Regions from separate parts of the Homo sapiens genome. Here region 1 is linked to region 2. Evidence: promoter capture Hi-C in 16 types of primary human blood cells and fetal thymus (Javierre and others, 2016). All regions are on one chromosome and are shown on one strand. The core of a region is centred on a gene start or on the middle of the fragment in contact, and the rest is flanking DNA. Distances in the headings are between cores, read along the strand shown.

Region 1 (4,353 bases), core at 1,628-4,127, 1.0 Mb before region 2:
TAATGTTAGACTTATTTCTCTTAAAATTCAGTGCATATTGGATATTTAAACATTCATTATCATTTGCAATTATTTTTGTAAGATATTTTGTTTCTTCTTGGGGCAGGTTAGTGAGTTTTGCAGTAGTGATCATTGTCAGATAAGATATGAGTGAATGGGAAATTATTCACATCGTTAGGTAGCTCACTCCCACTATAGCAACATGATGTAGACTCAGCCTGAAGTCAAAATGTCTGGATGAGGCCTTTTCAGTTGTAGAATTAGCTAACCAGAACTGAGATAAGGTCCAATACACAAAATCAAACATCTGGATTAAAATTTAAAAGATAGTCAATCATCTTGATATTTTTTATTGTCAACACACTCAACCTTCAGATATTGAATAGATGGTCTTAGTCATGTTGGCTGAAAGTTTATGGCTTCACTAGATCACAGCTGAGGCTCCCAGAGAAGCCATAAAGACAAAGCTAACAGTTTTCTAAGAGTAGGGACAGGTTTTTATGTCAAAATTTCAGTGCTGTCCTGGGAGGTGTTGGACCCGATTCCCATATATCATGGTCACATCTGTGCTTCTGACTTATATGATAGTCTTTCCTTTATGACTAAACATAAAAGGAATTTTGGTTTTGTGGAATACTGTCAAGAAAAGTGAAGAGGGGGTCTGGTCTGGCACCATTCCCAGGTCTAAACTTTGTAGAGGTATCCAGGGAAGAGCTGTTATTAATTGACATTGACAGTCAAATGAAATGGGTCAACTCCTGGTGATCCAAGGCTATTCATGCAAGTCCCACAAAACTCAGGTTCTCCTTTTCCTTTTGTTTGAAGCCTTCCTTTGGGTTGTTTTGGTTTTTACTAACATTTCTACCAGAAAAACAGAAAGTGTATTGCCAACTTTGTTAAGTGGCTCAGAAAATAAATTAGCATGGAGGATGCTAAACCATTGAGATATGAAGATTATAAATTAATCCACATATGAAAGTGTACATATCATTAAGCATTGGCTGAAAATCACTTAAATGGAGATCCAGTCGACCTCCTTTCACCTTGTCTAACTGAGGATCACTTACTGATCCTTTAAAAAAAAGATTCTAGAATCACCTCCTTGTGAATCCTTTCCAATACCTCTTAGTCAGTTGATTTATCCCTCTTCTGGACTATCTTAGCACTTTGTACATATCTTCATCATACCTTTGCTGCAGCACTGTTGTATTGTGCTGCTATGCTTTCAAATATAGGATATATCAATAGTATGACAAAATAATTAAAAAAATCTGATGTAACTATCAGATTTTCCACCAAACACAAGGAAAAGAATCCAAATAGGTCGTTTAAATACTTCCGAATAAAGAAACACAGTTTAACTAAATTTTTAATCTTCTGACCTATCAGGTGATTGTATCATAGTGGTTTCATAAAGACTTAGCTCAAATAGGCAAGTAACTTGACTTTTGATGGAGTGTATAAAAATGATATCCTGATTATCTAGAAGTTTAAAATTAAAGACTCACTATATTTTATGTAATTCCAATACAAATTCACTTATTAATAAATCCAAATACAGACTGTTTGATTCTTCTGCAGAAGTGATATATTTCTTTATTTTATTTAAATCTCAGATTATCTGTTTATTTCCCCAAAAAATATTTATTGAATCTCTCCTCTGTGCCTGCCACACTATGGAGTTTGCATTCTATTAATGGAAAACAAACTAAAAAGTAATCACAAAGTCAAGATCGGATAGTGATGAAGTCTCTGAAGAGACTACAAACAACAAGATGCGAAAAAGAGTGGGGAGTAGTGGCTACATTAGAGAGATTAATCAGGAAAGGCATATTCTGGAGTGATACAAAGGAGCCAGCTATGGAAACTCAAGATCAAAGGCTAGAACGCAAAGGTCAAAATGCAGGAAACAGAGTGTATTAGAGAAATGGAAAATAGGCAGATTTTGGGAGTTAAGATGATTTTGACTACAAGTAACAGAACACTCAACTCACTCGACACATTTAAATACACACATGTACATATACACAGTAAGGAGCATAGATTATCATACTTAAGAAAGTAGAGCTAGACTTGGGTTATTGCGTTGTTCAATGACATTATGAAGAATTGGAGTCCTTTCAATATTTCATGCACCATATTCAGCCTGTCATCTTTGTCCTTTGGCTAGATCCCCTCAGGGTCCCAAGATAAATTAATAGTTCTAGCTGGTCATCACATGCAGAACAGGGATGTTTTGCTGAAGAAGAGATTATCTCTGCTTCTTTCTTTCTTTTTTAAGTGGGAGAACTTTTCAAGAAGCCTTCAGCAGACTTCCCCTGTGGCTCACTGCATAGAATCATACCACATTTCAGGGCCTAAGAAAATTACTTTCCAGGAGCCTGGAATTACCATGATGAGTTTGCTTCAGTCAGAATTTTCCCCACTAAACTGTGTATATCCAGATATTACCTTCACTGAGTACTGAGTATGAGAAGAAAGTTAGACTTTTGCTAGTAAAGAAGAAAGGCAGCCTGGGCCTGGGTTGCCAACCATCAGAGTCTGCCTCAGCAGGTCAGTGTGGCTAGAATTATGTGAATGAGAGAATGAGTGGTTCAAAATGACTTTGAAGTGGTAGACAAGGATCAGTCTATTTAGGGCCTTCTAGGTTCTGGGAAGAAGAATAAGTTTTACCTACTTTAAGTAAAATGGAAAGCCACTGGACAAAAATAACATGATCAGGTTTACAGTTTTACAAGTTCCTCTGCAGATCAGCACTGTTTAATACAAATATGATGTAAGCTACATAGATAATTTTCTGTTTTTAATAGCTATGTCAAAAAAAGGTAAAAGAAAATGGTGAAAATATTTTAATATGTTGTATTTAACCCATATCCCCAAATGTTATCATTTCAACATTTAATCAATATAAAAAATCTATAAAATATTTTACGTACTGTGTTTGGTATTAACTCTTCAAAATCTAGTGTTTACTAGGCATATTTCAAGTGCTAAATAGTGGCTGGTTTATTAGACAGTGCAAGAGTAGATAATTGATTATGAAGAGGAAAGAGAGGAAGCAGGGAATAGACATTCCTAGCAACAGTTTCAGTGACCTGGAAGATTAACTTACTTAAATACTTCCCCTCACAATAGTGCTGGATAAATTTTATTTTTAAACCTTTTTGGCCACGTTTTTAATTCTTACATAGGTAGGCTTGTTTGGTTTGTGTAGCCTTTGATTTTTAAAAACAATGAAGACGGTGGTATTGTGTAGGCACAATCGGAGTTCTACAATGAAGTGTGTTAAAAGGAAAAACATATATAGCAATAAAAAGTTTCTTTGTTATTTTTTTTTTTGCATTCATCCATCTATCCCCTTCCTGCCTGACCTCATGCCTGAGCAATCACAATAGCCTCTTGAATAAATTTTCCTGAGTCTAGTGTTTGTTTCCTTCCTCTAACCTCTCCTGAGTATGACTGGTTGATCTCCCTAAAATAAAACTTTGGTGTTACTCCTCTTACTAAAATAGAACAAAACTCACTACTTGTACAATAAAACTTAGCTTTTTCACCAGGACTGCAAACGTCTTACACTATATCACTTTTCAACCATGGCTTTCATTGTTCCCTATACTCCGCTTTCATTTGGTCCAAATCTAACTACTTGCCATTTCCTGCAGGTACGTTGAGATTTGCCACTTCCGTACCCCATTCTGGGGTTCCTGCTTCCATTTGTCCTCCTGTGGCAAGTTTACTTTATCCTTCAAGGCTCTGCTTAAAGATTATTTTCCTTTATTACTAACATAAGAAATACTGTCTGCACCTTGGAAATCGTTGAGTTCTTCATTTACACAACTTTTGCACGTTTTAAAATGCTTAACCTATTCCAGAAACTCTGATAAGTTCTTTCCATGGGTTATCTCACTTTAAACTCTCAGCTGAAGGAGAGGAGTACTCTATTATTCCTATTTGACAAAGGAGCAAACGGGTCTTCAAGAGGTTATTTGTCTAAGATCACACAATTAGTAAATGGCAGAAATCATAGGAAGCCTAATTGCCTTTATGTCCAAAATGTCTATATCATTTTCATCCATATCACACAGTCAATGGGCTTGGAGTAGAGGTCTATACACCATTTCCTTGCTGGGTTACCTCGGACAAGTTGTTTCACATCTTTGGGTGTCAGAATAAGAAGATTTAGTAAAAGTTCTTGGAGTCCTCTTCCTAACATTCTATTAATCTATCAAAACGCAGAGGAGAGAGAACTTTCAAGAGGATTAACATTTAATTTTGGTATTCCCCAGTATGTTGCTGGTTTGAGAAAACTGGCCCAAACAGGGGGACAAAGCCAAGCATGCTGATCTTTCCAAA
Region 2 (4,098 bases), core at 86-2,585:
TAAAAGTCAGAATAAAAAAAAGAAATCAACAATTCTCAAAGTATAGATCAAGGAGAGTTGTTTGGTTTTTTGTTGTTGTTGTTTTTGATGCGAAACTTTTGCAAACAATCTAGTCAATGCCCAACAGAAAAACGTATCCTGCTTGAATTCCTTTAAAAAGAAAAGGCCAGTAGTTCCAAAAGTGGAAATATTAATACGGGACGGGCAGAGGGAACCCTGACTTTGGCGAGTAAGAAGAAAAAAATTCTTGGAGCAATGAGATGGGGAAAAAAAGAGACGAGTGGCTATTAAGTAGAAATAAATTTAAGAGGAGGAAGTGGAGTTCAGTGTGTCAGTCTCGGGTGCGGAGTGGCGGATCTGAACTCGGCTCCTCCGGCCAAAAGGGAAGAGATGAAAAGGTCCCGGGGCTGGCAGCTGGCGAACTGACGGGAGGGGCGCCGGGAGCGCGGTGAGGGGGGCCGCCGAGGCTGACCTGGGCTGAAATTTATATATTTAAAGAAGGAGCGGTTCGGTCCTGCCTTCCACTGCGGCGCTGAGAGCAGGAGCAGCAGCAGCTCCGGAGCAGAGAAGCGCACACGTGTGTGCGTGCGTGTGTGTGTGTGTGTGTGTGTGTGCGTGTGCGCGCGCTGGGGGCGAGCCCAGCGCACCGCGGGGAGGAGGGTGCGCTTCGCAGGGCGCTCGGTACTCGGTCGGGTGCCGCAGGGGCCGCAGAGGCTGCTGAGGCGGCGCGGATCCTGCTCTGGGAGCTGCGCTCCGTGGCCTACACCCTGGCGGGCGCGCGCTGACCCGCTTGGTTACTCCACGTTGCTGCCGCCGCCGCTTGCAAACGCTTCCAGCCTCCAGCTCCCTCCTTCTCCTGCTCCTCCTTCTCTTGCTCCAAACGCCAACCCAGCCACAGACGATCAGCCGTCGCGGTTGCGTTCACCCCCTGCGGATCACAACGGCAGCCCTTGCGACACCCTGGCTGGGGAGTTTTATTCCTGAGGGGGTTGCGCAGGGGCTCCCTTGGACTCCCACCCTTTCCCAACCTCTGCTGGCTTCTCCCCAACGTGGAATTGCTCGCTTAGGGTAGGTAGGCACTTGCCACCCTAAAATAGATCCTCTCTGTCTCCTCCTGTCTGCAGCCGGGCAGCCCCTCAGTTTGTTCCTGGATGACTCCCTAGACCGTCAGGCTAATATTCTCCATCCCCCTCCCCTGCCTCTTTCACTTGCGCTCTCGCTCTGCTGTCTCTTTCTCTCTTTCTCTTTCTATCTCTATCTCAATCTGTCTTTCTCTTGTCAGGAGCTTCTGGAGCTCCGCTCGGAGCGAACCTTCTGCTGCCAGCAGATAACATCACGATCTTGCCGGGGAGGGGAGATTTATAAGTTCTCTCTGAACCACGTGTCTGCCTTCAACAAAGTGACGTGCTAGGATTACAGTCAGAAGTCCTCTCGTTACTTAGACCACGAGCTCTCCCCGAACCGTTGAGGGAGTGTGGAAATGAGGACCGCTGTGGGTAAGGGAGGAAGGAGGTGGAATGTGCGCCCTGACAACAGTGATTTACGGTATTTACTTTCCAGTCATTTTGGACAGGTCTGTTGAAGGAAGGACAATCAAGTCTCCCGTTTTTACTTAGTGTAGCTCAGTCACAGCCTCCCAAGCTGAATCACTTGCTCTAGAAGGGAAGGCTTCCCTCCTGTATTATGTGTGCACACGCACCCCTATGGGAGGGAGCACTAGTCTACTCAGGGCCAGGCCAGTACTGAAGACATACCTTCCAATCTTTTAAATTCATGTCCTACCTCTTATTTTCTGGGATACCTTAGCAGGTTGCCATCCCAGAATTTATTTTGTTAGTTTGTTGTTTACAATGTACCCCTCTGTTTGTGAACTGCTGGAAAACAGAGATCCATCAATTTTACCTAAAGAATAAGGTATACTTGTTTGTTTTACTGATTTGAATGAATGGTCACCTTTATAATTTGCTGCCTAAGCCACTTCTTGTATGGCTTTCTTCTTCACCTTCTTGCTAGGCTAAACATTATCAACCAACTTCATTCTTTCCATAGCATTAATCCAGGAAGCTGGAATTTTAAGTGTTTGATGTCTACTGTTCTACACTACTCATAACTTGACATTTTCAATTTCAACTAAGTCTAAATTAGATGAATACAAGAATAACTCTTACCACTGTTCCACCTTCCCTTTTTCTTTTATTTTACCTTTAGTTACTCAAAGTCAACATTTTCATTTCGGCATGACTCTGCAGCCATACTGACCAGACAGATGATTTAAACTGGAAACTCTGTTGAATGTACTCCCAAACCCAAGATCTCTATACTGTTCTCTACTTCAGATGTTCCTGAGTTCAGAAAAGTCACAAAGAACTTTCTATCACTTTTGGAATTTATACTTCAGTTGTGTATGGGGCCTAGGTTATTAGTAGAGCACTGAATAAATAAAATAATAATAGCTAACATATACTACACTTAGTAATTTGATGTGTGTTGTGTATGGTCATTTAATCTTCACTATGAACCTATAAAGTGGGTCTTATTATCCATATCTGGCAGATGAGGAGACTGAGGTACAAAGAAGTTAAGTACTTTGTTCGAGACCACAGTAAGTGGTAGAGCTGGATTTTTGCAGTCAGGATCCACTATGTTCTTACCTACTATGTACTTCTGAGAAACAATGGTCCCAGAATATGTTCTGACAAACAGGAATTCTGGAGTCAAACAAGTTTGGGAGATACTGGGTACTCTCCTGTCCTCTTAGATTCCTCATTCTGGAACATTATCATGTTAAAGGCTCTGAAACTCCTGTAGAAGAGAAAACCTTTTCACTCTTTTAACCCAGCATTTTCCAAACTCCCTTGAATACAGAATTTTTTCCATTATCACACATTGAAAAACTCTGGAATAAAATAATTGTTCCAACCCACTTCTGAATAATTCTAAAAATTATGTATAAATCAGCACCAGCAGGTTCCTTTCCTTGATACCAGTTTTGAGTTGAAGCAAAGCTACCATCCCAGTAGCCCAAGAAAAAGATAATCAAGAGGCGCTACTGTCAGACTAGTAGTTTCATCCAGTTAGGTCCTCCCTCTGAGTTCAGTTTGAGAACTGCAGTAGGCTAGCTCTACAGATTGGACAAAAAGTGAATATTCTTACACCTGTGGCCATTATAGACACAGAGCAGGAGCTCCAAACCAGAGCTACTGAGAGAAGATGCTGCTGTGGAATATGGCTGGTTACCTGAATTAGCTATCACTGTATTTTGCTGAGGATACAGGTTCAGCTTCCACAAGCCAGTGAGCATCTTTCATGTTTATAGACAACCTTCTTGGTACAGACACTGATGCACCTTAAGTAGATTCAGATTAGAGTGTGGATAGAGTAGCAAAAGTTCATTTACATCACTTCTAGGAAAACAGCGCAAGCCATAAATTCTGATGGCCACCCCTCTTCCTGACATAGACATACACACTTTTGTTCATAATACTTAGTTTACTGAGTACCTATTGCTCACTTAACAACTCCTTAGACCTGAGACCCCTGACTTACTCATAAGAGGCTACTTTAATTTCCCCAAAGCCCAGGAGGGTAAGACGGGAGGTATTGGTAAAAGCTTCTGGAATGGGTAAGTGCAGTAAGTGAGTATAGCAGGAGAGGAGGAGCCCCTTTCCACCTCTCAAATGATCAGTTCTTTGAAGACCTAACCGGCAAGATTGCTAGAGCTGTCTCCCTGGTAACCGTAAATGAATCATTTCTTCTATTAAATGGCTCTTATAATGCCTTTTCATCTCTATATTTAATGGAGGTCTTATGTGCCGGGGTCTCTACAGTCTTCATGGTAAAAGGGTATTTAAATGATATACACCCATCTTGATTACTTCAAGGAGGCAGGAGAGCACAGTGGTTTAAAGGGCAGGCTCCAGTCATGGTTTTTTGGGTTCAGATTTCTGTCACTTTCTGGCTTTGTGATCCTGAACAAGTTACTCACTGACTCTGTGAGTTTCTTATCCTATCATGTCTTTATTTCTGTCAAGGAATTTATAATAAAAATATCTGGCCTTCTCTCTCTCTCTCTCTCGCTCTCTCTGAAAAGCCAGGAAA

Evidence for each region. Contacts are between HindIII fragments. The CHiCAGO score rates a contact against its expected background, and 5 or more counts as called.
Region 1: a contact is called between a fragment that was not itself captured here and the fragment with the promoter of TGFB2 in region 2, in 4 of 17 cell types (non-activated CD4 T cells, naive CD4 T cells, total CD4 T cells and 1 more). The highest score is 7.0, in non-activated CD4 T cells.

Annotation. Positions count from the first base shown.
Region 1 is chr1:219,361,938-219,366,290 of GRCh38, reverse strand. It overlaps a transcript of LYPLAL1 not described here. Among named protein-coding and RNA genes, the nearest start is that of LYPLAL1, 190 kb to the right of the region's middle. The HindIII fragment of the contact is 6,407 bases long and covers 1-4,353 here.
Region 2 is chr1:218,342,573-218,346,670 of GRCh38, reverse strand. It overlaps TGFB2 (transforming growth factor beta 2), which reads right to left and starts at 1,335. Exons shown (of 7, transcript NM_003238.6): 1 at 1-1,335. TGFB2-AS1 (TGFB2 antisense RNA 1) reads left to right here and starts at 993. Exons shown (of 3, transcript NR_046268.1): 1 at 993-1,068; 2 at 1,283-1,496; 3 at 2,209-2,475. RefSeq lists an enhancer at 918-967 and a silencer at 1,348-1,407. The HindIII fragment of the contact is 5,586 bases long and covers 1-3,612 here.